Regions from separate parts of the Homo sapiens genome. Here region 2 is linked to region 1. The links are contacts of gene promoters, found by promoter capture Hi-C in human tissues and cell types (Jung and others, 2019). All regions are on one chromosome and are shown on one strand. Each heading gives the region's core, a stretch centred on a gene start or on the middle of the fragment in contact. The rest is flanking DNA. Distances are from core to core; before and after follow the strand shown. Region 1 holds the start of MPP4 (MAGUK p55 scaffold protein 4). Region 2 overlaps ALS2 (alsin Rho guanine nucleotide exchange factor ALS2).

Region 1 (5,611 bases), core at 2,434-4,933:
CTAGTTTGAAATGCTTATTTTAATGTTTATTTTTGGTATTGCTTTAGGTAGATTTAGTTTCAAGAAGTAGAAACCCAGAATAATTTTGGCTTAGCAGAGTAGTTTATATCTTGTTCGTGTGAAAGTTCAGAGACAGAGAGAATCCAGGGCTAATAGGGCAGCCTTGCTCCACGAAGTCCTCAGGGAATAGGTTCCTTCCGGCTACTGCTCTGTCACCCTAGGGTGTAGCATGGTTCTGTCTACCTGCTCCAAGATGGCAGCTGCAGCTCCAGTCATCACGCCTACATTTCGGCCAACAGGGTAGGGGAGGAAGGGATTAAGAAAACACGGGCAAAGAAAATATGCCTACTGCTCTTTAAGCAAAGTTTTCCACAAGTTGCCCTACACAGTGAAGAATCGCCTCATGCCCTGTATAGCTTTCAAATGTCCCACTGAACTATCATGTCACTGAAAAACAATAAAACCTGTAGTTATCTGAATCCAGACGCCAACTTTTCTTTACATATAAACACAAGACACTTTTGCACTGGTTTAATATACAATGGGGAGTAGGGTATTGAGGCAGGGAAGGTGAAAAAGCCAGTAATAGGTTGTCATCAAGAAGTAACCACTGTAGGCAACTAGAGCTTAATCCCACGGGGGAACAGGGGCCAAGGGAGTGAGAGTATTTACACACCAATGGCAACATGAGGGTTTTTATACACCAATGGCAACCTTGGTATATAAATACCCTCACTCTCTTGGCCCCTGTTAGAGCCAACAGGTTAAGAGCTCTTCCCAGAGAGCATTATTTCTGACTCTTCCAGCATGCAACATGTATACCTTCGGATAGGAAGTGGAGGGGCTAGCAGCTGGAGTGGGCTCAGAGTGCACCAAAATGGTAACAACCAAGGGGTATGCGGTGGGGGTAGGGACCAACAACATTGTTATAGTAGGACAATAAAGAATACATTAAGGTTTTTGTTATAAAAGGAACACTTCAAATTAGTTGTTAAAGACTGGAGTATTGACTCTGATAGGGTTGAGAACCACTGTCTAGAATCTAGACTGATTGTGGGTTGAAGCCAGGAAGGCTATCTAAAAGAAGAAAAGATCATTATTATTTTGACTCTAAATTCTAAGGCAGTGAGAAGAGCAACACAGAAAGCTGTTACAGCATTTTAGACAACTTTCCCCTACACATTCCTTTCCAAACACCCTGAAGTCTTCCGGTTTGCTAGGTTCTACCAAAGCTTGACATCGTTATGCTTTTGACTTGCCCTCCATCACCTACCTTGCCCACTTGTAATTGAGTCAGATTAAACAATGCGTTTTCCTGTGTTCTGTGTTGTTTTTGACTCTATTGAATCATTTAGCATCACAGCTGCATATCTGACTCATCTTCCTCCCTGGAGGGGAGCACTTCCAGGGTAGAAAATTGAAAAGGGAGATGGAGTGCCTGCTAGAGAGCAGACAAAAGTCAGAGCAGACAGATGAGGCTGACACTCAGGCTGACTCTTAAAATTGGTTCCCCTCCAGCACCTCACAAATCACACGTCCTTGGCAAAGCAGTGCAGATTAAACAAGCCAACTGTTGTTTGCACGTCATGAGGTGGACCACATTTCTGCCATATTTAATGCCCGAATGACTGTGCTGAGCTAGGCCTACCCATTCAGCAGTTGGGGGCACACACTAGAGACTACATATTTCTGAGATGAATTTATTGTGAGGGAGCTTTACAGATAGACTGTGCTTCACAGATAGGCGGTGGTTTCTTGAGTGAATGCAATGGTTAAAATAGCTTCTAATAAATCTAGAGCCAACTTCAGGGCTACCTAGATAACTAATTCATACATTCTAAAAGGCTCGTTTTGACCCAAAGTTTCTCAGCCATAGAGGCAAAAACAATAATTACAGTAATCTACAACTTATGCAAATTCTAAAAACTGTGCTTGGCTCCTCATCTTCAGGTTCCTATGACAAATTTATGGTGGACTGAATGTTGTGTCCCCACCCCCAATTCAGATGTTGAAGCCCTAATCCCCATTGTTGATGGCATTTGAAGATGGGGCCTTTGGGAGGTAACTGGGTTAAGGTCATGAGGTAGAGGCCTCAAGATGTCATTAGCGTCTGGGTAAGAGCCATCAGAGTTCATGTGTTCTCTCTCTCCCTGCCAGATGATGGCACAGTGAAAACGCGGCCATCTGAAAGCCAGGAAGAGAACCCTCGCAAGAACCCAACCATGCTGGCATCCCAATCTTCAACTTCCAGCCTCCAGAACTGTATGAGAAAATACATTTCTGTTGTTTAAGCCACTGTCTATGGTACTTTGTTATGACAGCCAAAGCTAAGACAAAACTCATAGAAAAAAACTTCCAGAAAATGATTTTCCCTCCCTCCAGGTAGCTAAGAAAACAGTTGCAACTTCTTGCCCTCATAGCACTTCTCATTTTCCCAGTTCTTGTATCCACTGGCTTGCTCAGTGTCTGTCTCCCGCAGGTGTCATGTCTGCAGAGGGCCTGGGGAGCAGAGATGTTGCTTATCTTGTTCATGCTGCAGCTTCACCTGCAACAGTGCTTGGGCCATAGCAAGCACTTGGTATGTTCAGTTGTTGTTGGGAAGGGGTAGAACAAGGAGAGGCCAAGATCCAGAAGTAAAAGGCTGATACCTCCCTCAAGGCAGTAGCCAGCAGCTGGGACTTCAATCCTAATGGGGGAGGCAGCTGAACTCCAGAGGCCTGTGCCCTCCCTTCCTTTCCTCCCTGGCCTGGTATCCTGACTTAAACCTCTTTCCCTATCAAACTTTAAAACTGGGGGCAGAAGCGGATCTTAGAGATAATCAAATGCAAAACCTTTGTTTTACAGATAAGGAATCTGACATTCAAGGAGGTATTCAGTAGAGTTAACATGTAGTAAAATCGAGTTTTCCTCTTTTGTTTCCTTAGTCCTGAAAGATGCTGATGCCTGGCATGATGCCTGGCAAAAGACTTACCTTCCTTTCCATGACTTCTGTACCAAATTTGTCAGTTGAAGCTTATCTATTTCTGCTATCTTGAGAGTGAGAATTCTTGATTGAGACTGCAAATAAGTAAGCACCCACCACATGCAATTCCGGACTGAGTACACAGAAAGGATAGCCAGTTCTTGACTCAGAAGATGCATTAGTGTGACTGATGCCTAAGGAATTTGTCCTAAATCTTGTTTTAAAAGTATTTCCATTAGCTTTTTAAAACGTACTATTAAATGCCACAACCCCCTACCCTTACTATGCTTGTTTTTCAAAATAGTGCTTTTTACTAGACAAACCCTAAAAAAGCACTTGGAAACTTAATGATGAGAAATGGCCCTTACAAAAATAGCTGGCTTCCTCTGGGTCCAAATGCTGTTGATTAGGACCAGGGCAAATGCCCATTGTACTCAATCTTCCTGACAACTCATTATTCCATACTGAAGAAATGGCTTCTCGAAGCAAAACCTGCTCTTTCAAGATCATAAAATTCCCCATATCATTTGAGTTAAAATGAAACTAAGCCATTTGAGTTAGATTACCCAGATTTATATCTTTAGCTATTAAAAACTGACAGGCAAGCTAGGCAGTTATGGATACATCTTCTGGTAACTGAGGATTATTTGCCAAGGTCTCTTACCTGCAAGACTGTAAACATGCATGTTGCTCCTATCCAGACAAAAGCTTTAGTAGGATACTAGTGGCCTGTTAGCTGCCAAAGTCACCTCACTGCTCCCGATAAAATCTCTGCACATCCTCTTTGATGTAATCCACAGATGCCTAACCCAGCCTAACAACTAAATTACTCACAAGCCTTTCCTGCCACAAATCTTCTTAAGTATTCCTTGAAGTCTAATTTGTATCATTTTCAAACCTACATTCTAGTATTTTCTCTCAAATTGCCAACACATAGTTAACGGCAGAAAAACATAGTATTTTTGTTGATTAGTTCAAGATGACAGACATTCCACAACAGAAGATAGCATTTTTAATGAAAGAAAAAAATGTGGCAGGACCGGAAATAAGCCAATAACCTACTAACCTTATTAAATCTCTCATGTTATGGTGAGAAAACAACTGAAGACTGTTCAGCTAATAATAGAAACCCATCAAAAACAGTACCTTCTGGTCAATCCCCTCCCAAGCCACTGTTCTGAACCTAACAAATAGTGCTTTCTGTCTCAGATAGGAGCTACTTCTTTATCTGAAAACTTAATACTGCAGGGAGTGCTCAGTGGGGAGAGCATTTGGAAGGGGATATTGCAGAAAGGAGAGGAAGGTATTGCTGACAGCAAGGCAAAAGGTAGAGACCAAATGGCAATTATCAGAGGGTCCTCAGCCCTTCTACCCATATTAATCACATGGCTTTCCTTATCTCTCCATCATAGATGAAAACACAAGTTGGGAATGTGATACATTTGTGTTTTGAGTACAGCATATTTTGTGAAAAGCACTTGATTTCAATAAGATTTTCATTTTTAACTCACTTTTAAGAACTTTCAATACATAACCAGCTATGAAATGACATCTCTGGCAGCTGTAGTAGCAAAAAGCACTGGACTTCTAGGGAAGTAGGGAGTAGGGAAGTTCTAGGCTGGAGTCCCAGCTCTGGCAGTGAGCAAATCTTGGTCACTGCTTGTCTGAAAAATGGGGGGAAATGGGGATAACACCTGCATCCTTGGGCTGCTGTAAGCATTCATTACGCATGTGAATGACCATTGTAAACTGCTGCAGGAGTGCCAAGGACTTCTATTTACAAACATTGGCCTGGAGATTTAGGGTTTTTCTTCCAATACACTTCAAAATTTATAACTTTAATATGCTATCTGAAAAGCATATAGTAGGAAGAATCCAAAGTAACTGAACAGTTTCATTCAAGACTCCAGTAAAAGGACGAATTGTAACATGGCTTTTCTTAGAACAGAGACAGCCTATCATCATTGGAAATCTTCTCAATGGGTCAATTTGTCTCAAAGTTTTTGTTTGTCCATTTCCACATATTATCCACCCCCGCCCAGAGTCAGAAATTCTGTAAATTTGGCTTTACCAGGCAAATGTGGTTATTTATGTGTTTGTTCAGAAACTCAAAACAATCTCCAATGTAAATGCAAAGTATTTAACATAAACGGATTTTTAAGGGTTGGTCCCCTTCCAACAGAGGACAGGCACATTCTGGTAGAGGCAGCAACAAGATGGAAAGGCCTCTTGAGAAAACATTACAACTGGGAGATAATTAATATCTAACGTTTCTAAGCAGAATTTTAAAGCCTCACCTTCCCTTCCCTCGATCTGTTTAGGAGGAAAAAAAATAACGAGTAACTATCAAAATATGCTTTTTATTCAAAGAAATAATAGATTTCTTTGGAGACCCGTGTCCTTGGGTTATTGGGGTCAGAAAGTTAATTTGCTCTTTGCTAGAAAGGGTGCTATAACTATTGGTTTACGTTTATTTTAAAGACAGAGATTTCTAAAACCCCAGAGGGACTTTTGAGGCCAATACTTAGAGGCATGGATTACAATGTGGGCTAAAGAAATACTAAGTCTGGGTTTCCTTTCATCTTTTAGGCTGCCCTGTTCATTTCTTCTACAATCATAAAACAACCACATAAAGATGAATGCCTTTTA
Region 2 (5,611 bases), core at 2,233-4,732, 72 kb after region 1:
TGGATCCTTCTGCCTCTGTTGAGCTAAAACATCAAGAAACATAGCTTAATTGTTTCTACAATTCAGAACAGTATCCTTTGTTCTTAATACTTTTCATGATTGTACCTTTTACCAGCACATGGATGACTAGGTCAGATAGCTGAATTAGCACCTATTTTATGCTTTGGTTATGCTCACAGAAGCCAAGGTAAAACAACTATTTATATAAAAGACTGAAGGATGTGGGGCGTGGTGGCTCACACCTGTAATCCCAGCCCTTTGGGAGGCCGAGGCAGGCAGATCACAAGGTAGGAGCTCGAGACCAGCCTGGCTAATACGGTGAAACCCTGTTTCTACTAAAAATACAAAAAAAAAAAAATCAGCCGGGCATGGTGGCGTGAACCTGTAGTCCCAGCTACTCAGGAGGCTGAGGCAGGAGAAGCGCTTGAACCCGGGAGGCGGAGGTTGCAGTGAGCCAAGATCTTGCCACTGCACTCCAGCCTGGGCGACAGAGCAAGACTCTGTCTAAAAAAAAAAAAAAAAAAAAGACTGAAGGACACTCTAAACCCACAAATTACTTTTCTCCATCTAAGAAGCAAACAAAACTTGGGCTATTTTTAGAAGTTTTAGCATTTGGTAGCATAAAATTCCAAGATTCTAACTTCTCAATATATTCACTCCTTGTTGAGATATCAAAGCTACAACATGCCCAAGTTGAAGTCTTATCATAAAATTTTATAGTAAGTAAAAAGTACTTGATGAGAACAATATGAGAAACAGGAATTCATATTTCACTTTATGTTGAGTTTAAGTGTAGAACTGCTATTTAAATTTTTAGGAATCAAGTTTATAATAGATATCAGTAAAATCCTTAATGCTTTGCTCAAGTTCTAGCTAAAGAATTCTACACATCTGATGATTTCGGTTTAAAGAATACAAAACACATAGCTGCACAGTAATGACCATATCCTAACTGCCTTCTTCTAAGAAAAGGGCACATTAAGATATGTGCCACCATTGGTAATACATTTTTTCATTTTCTTTTTTCTAGAACGCTGATGCCAAAATTTTAATGAGGCACAGAAACTCTTTTGAATAGCTAAGCATTTATCTATATTTGCTAAATAATATTCCCTTAAATTATAACTGGACATAACCATGGTTCTATAGGAGGAACAGTATACATTTAACCTTCCTTTTAAATATCTTCCATAACTAGTTCTTTAAGGATGGAAGATGATTAAGATTAGCAAGGCTACTTCTGAAAACCTGAAATTATTTGTGAGGGAAAAATGGCTACAAGCACTTTAAAATGATGAAATGAAGACATTTAGTGCTTCTTACAAAGCTTACAACTAACAAGCCTTTTTAAAATTTTATCTTTACCAACGAACTAACTACAAATGTCACTATTCCCACTTAACAACCATCAACAAGAAAATTAAACTGAAGAGAAGCTACACATATGTGAAGCTGTTTGCTATGTTTTCCTAGGAGGATAAGAGAAAAGGAAGAAATGATTTTACCTTCTCTTCTTTGAGTCCATCGGTCAGTGGGAACACTCCATCACCAAATCATTCCTTCTTTACAGAAAGTCTATCAAGACCTAAACAGTACAAGTAAGGAAAAGAGCAGTAAAAGAATATTTTACCCCTCAGACATTAAAAAAAAAAAAAGCAGCCCTCTAACAAGTGCACATTCACTAGGAAATAAATATGCAGTAAAACTATTTAAACTATTTCATATCTTGCCTGCCAAAGTCAAACATAGGCTGAGCCTGCCCACTAAGCTTATAAAAATGCCCATTGACTGTCAAATGTAATGTCAAAGGAAGAAAAGACTACCCACAATTAAGCTGTACTCTTCCAGGCAATAGATTTTGTTTTTTATTATAAAGAAAAAAGTTCAATCTGAAAAATCAATGTGTTAAGTACAAAAAGTACACACACATTAAGGGTACTTTTTAAACGCTCTGTCTGGAATGCATGAAGACTTAAATACCAATTAACTCAGATTTTCTAAAATCTCTTCAGTAATGTATCTGATTCAAGTAGTTTTAATTTATACTTTTCAGTAATGCACAAAAATTATGTCATTAAAATAGGAAGTTTTCCACTTATTGGAAGAAGGAACATTTTCCCCAAATCACCTTCGATTCAGACCAACATGCCTCATAACCCAAACGGTTGAAAGAAAGAAGTCTGAATTTTAAATCAGCTGTTTTAAAATCCACCTTTAATAGAAAATAGCTGTATGAAAATTATAGTTACAAATATCATGGCCCATCAGTTTAGAAACTCAGTATTTAATAAAATAAGAGATAGAAAAATAAACAGAAATGCTGAGTGCATTTCAACTCAGAAATCCACATTTGTAAGGGTACCAAAACACAAGAAAACAAAAGCAGTTAGGTCTTATTTGTGTAAACCATAAAAATATTGGGGCCAAATTTGTGGTTTTTCTGCAAAAGGATATGGAATGGTCACTGTGTTCTGGAAACAGCTCATACTGGCAGGAGTGATCTGGGGTCCATCTGTTTCCTCCAGGTTGCCTGTGAATTCTTACCATTTCCCATCTGTACATCTGAAGAAAATTACTTTCCACCTAATGCTTATTTTAGAAAGATTATGAATCATTCAAAGTTGGAAAATGGGTACTATGTTAACAAGAGATATATCTGAATAAATTTAATAAATGATATTCATTTAATAAATACAATTAAGTGCTACTATGCTTTGTCCATGATAGTAATTAGCCTTTTGTAAAATGCACAGTTCATGGTGTACAGAGAAATTCTGCCACCAGATCTAATCTGTGCTTATCTATCAGAGATCATGGAGTTACTACGCCCTTGATTAAATTTCAACAATAGGTAGCGGAAGCCAGAGAATTATTCTACGAGGATGTGGAAGCACACAAGCACACCTTACTTCACACAACTGACACACTATATGTAAACGGAATTTTGTCCTACTAACAATCAAAAATGTTGAGAATCTTTTGATAAAATGAATAAAGTCAACCTTTATTCTCTCTTAGTGCCAGATTTTTGAGCACAGTTTTCTTAAAGTTGGTTACACCTTACTCAATATTATTTATCACCACCACTCATTTTTTTTTTTAACCTAAATGGAATTAAAACTCTACAAACTGTTTTTACAACTTTCTTTTCTTACTTACTATAGGGCAGGCCAAATAACGGTCTCCAAAGGCATCAAGGTCCTAATGCCCAGAACTTGTGACTATGTTAGGTTGTGTGATACTAACCAACTCTCCTTAAGATAGAAAGATTATCCTGGTTATCCAGGTGCACCCAATGTAATCATAAACATCCTTAAAAGTGGAAGAGGGAGGCAGGAGGAGAATCAAAGAGACATGATGATGGAGGCAGGGTCAGAGATGACGCTACACTGCTGACTGAACATGGAAGAAGGCAGCCATGAGCCAAGGAATGCAGGTGACAGGTAGCAGCTGAAAAGGCAAGGAAAAGAATTCTTTCCTAGAGCGTCCAGAAAAAAGCAGCCATGCCGACACCTTGACTTTAGTCTACAAGACCTGTGACAGACTTTCAGCCCACAGAACTTGAAGATAATATATTTATTTGTGTTATTTTAAGCCACTAAGTTCATAACAATTTGTTGCAGCTGCAGTAGAAAACTAATATATTATTTCACAGACATCTTTTTACATCAGTATTTACAGATTTTTTTTTTTTTTTTTTTTTGAGACGGAGTTTTGCTCTTGTCACCCAGGCTGGAGTGCAATGGCACGCTCTCGGTTCATTGCAACCTCCGCCTCCCAGGTTCAAGCAATTCTCCTGCCTCAGCCTCCCGAGTAGCTGGGATTACAGGCACCCGCCATTACGCCTAGCTAATTTTTGTATTTTTAGTAGAGACGGGGTTTCACCATGTTGGCCAGGCTGGTCTCGAACTCCTGACCTCAGGTGATCCACCTGCCTCGGCCTCCCAAAGTGCTGGGATTACAGGTATGAGCCACCTTGAGCCACCGCGCCCGGCCCCTATCTCATTTTGTTTTAATGGTGTTTAATATGTTTGACATCTTCCAACAAGATACGTCTGCCTGAAACTCCAATAGGGCAATGAAGAAAACTGATTGCTGAGGAAACATAACTAAAAAGGAATATTGCAACTAAATGTGGGGATCTTATGTTATTAAAGTTTTATCCTCATATACTTAAGTAAGGGTGGTATTTACCAACTCTATTTAATCTAACATTCTTTCTCAATTACGTATCCATCCAGGAAAAGAAAGTAAATGAAAAACTTTTGTCTTTCTAATATTTTTATGATTGTCTCTCCAGGAAATCTATTAAGACTCACCTCAACCAGTCAAATAGCATTCAAATTTCTGTATGTTATTTCATTGCTTTAACATTTTAAGTTTTTATAAAATTGCCTAATCATAAAACTTCCTCTGGGGATATTTCTTCCAGAGAAGCTTTAAGGTCTTTATCATTCCTTAAGAGGGCAAGATCCTTGTACTCTGCTGCTTTTCTTCTGTTACAGTAACTTTCCTGCATAGACCTGTTAACCAGCTCTGATAAAGAAGCCATGTGATGTTGCATAAACAGCATTTACTGTGGGACCCTCTCTTACCTTGCATGGCCTCTCCACAGATAAATGGCATCTCCGTAAAATGAGCAAACCAGACTTCAGTCTTCTGAACCGCAGGACACAGCTAGATTCACTTTAAAGCATACCACTCTATCCTTCAAATTATTATCTCCTTCACAGTGATATGTAAAGTAACAAAACCCCAGGGGGCCCTTTAAACAAAGAGCAAACCTTGCTTCTTAATAAACTGATGCCACTTTTAGACTCCACTGGATACACATCCTTCTGTTACATCTAACAGAGAAATAAGTTGTCCTGTACGAGCCAAGGATATCATTTTAATACCATGATCTGGAAGTGCCCTTAACAACAACAACAACAACAACAATCTAGTCTAGATGTCCCAACTGTTAGAAAGATGAGCTACAACCATCTTACAGGTCTACAATACCTTAACCAGAAATCTATAGCTCTGAAAATTAAAAGTTTTTTCAATAACACTTTTGGTGGCAAAATCTAATCTGACCTGAACTCATCTGACAGCAAAATCTGACCTGAACTGATATGAGGTTATTTATCACTTTTATCCCTTTAGTGTGAATATTCATACATCGTGTTGTAGAAATATCAGTATGAATAGGGCAGCACCACAGATCCCACAGGAAGTGTTATATAATATATAGTTTATGCATCTTACTCTAAAGAACAAAACATAAATCTGAATTCCAAAATGCACCTTGCCCCAAGGGTTTTGAATAAAGGACCAGGAATCTATATTCAAAAACAACTATCGTTTTTTAGTAGAAGTCTCAAAACTTTTAACTATTTTATACTTAACTTGGTTTCTTTTATGTACTTTGAACATTTACTTCATTTTGGAGAGTACACTGGGGAGTTGCATTGCTTCCAGTGGGACAGTCTATGGATGCTTTCATGATTTTTTTTTTTTTTTTTTTTTTCATTTTTGAGATGGAGTCTTGCACTGTCGCCTGGGCTAGAGTGCAATGGCATGATCTCAGCTCACTGCAACCTCCACCTCCTGGGTTCACATGATTCTC

Evidence for each region. The method cuts DNA at HindIII sites, captures the fragments that hold promoters and counts their contacts. A contact is called where the count stands out against the background at its distance.
Region 2: a fragment that was not itself captured here is called in contact with the fragment with the promoter of MPP4 in region 1 in 2 of the 25 tissues and cell types used here (mesenchymal stem cells and psoas muscle).

What each region holds. Positions count from the first base shown.
Region 1 is chr2:201,694,961-201,700,571 of GRCh38, forward strand. It overlaps MPP4 (MAGUK p55 scaffold protein 4), which reads right to left and starts at 3,684. Exons shown (of 22, transcript NM_033066.3): 1 at 3,627-3,684. ALS2 (alsin Rho guanine nucleotide exchange factor ALS2) reads right to left here. Exons shown (of 34, transcript NM_020919.4): 34 at 5,307-5,611. RefSeq lists enhancers at 4,314-4,815, 4,816-5,315. The HindIII fragment of the contact is 2,902 bases long and covers 3,342-5,611 here.
Region 2 is chr2:201,767,361-201,772,971 of GRCh38, forward strand. It overlaps ALS2 (alsin Rho guanine nucleotide exchange factor ALS2), which reads right to left. Exons shown (of 34, transcript NM_020919.4): 2 at 1,506-1,585; 3 at 1-23. The coding sequence starts at 1,525. Among named protein-coding and RNA genes, the nearest start is that of ALS2, 11 kb to the right of the region's middle. The HindIII fragment of the contact is 3,871 bases long and covers 1,548-5,418 here.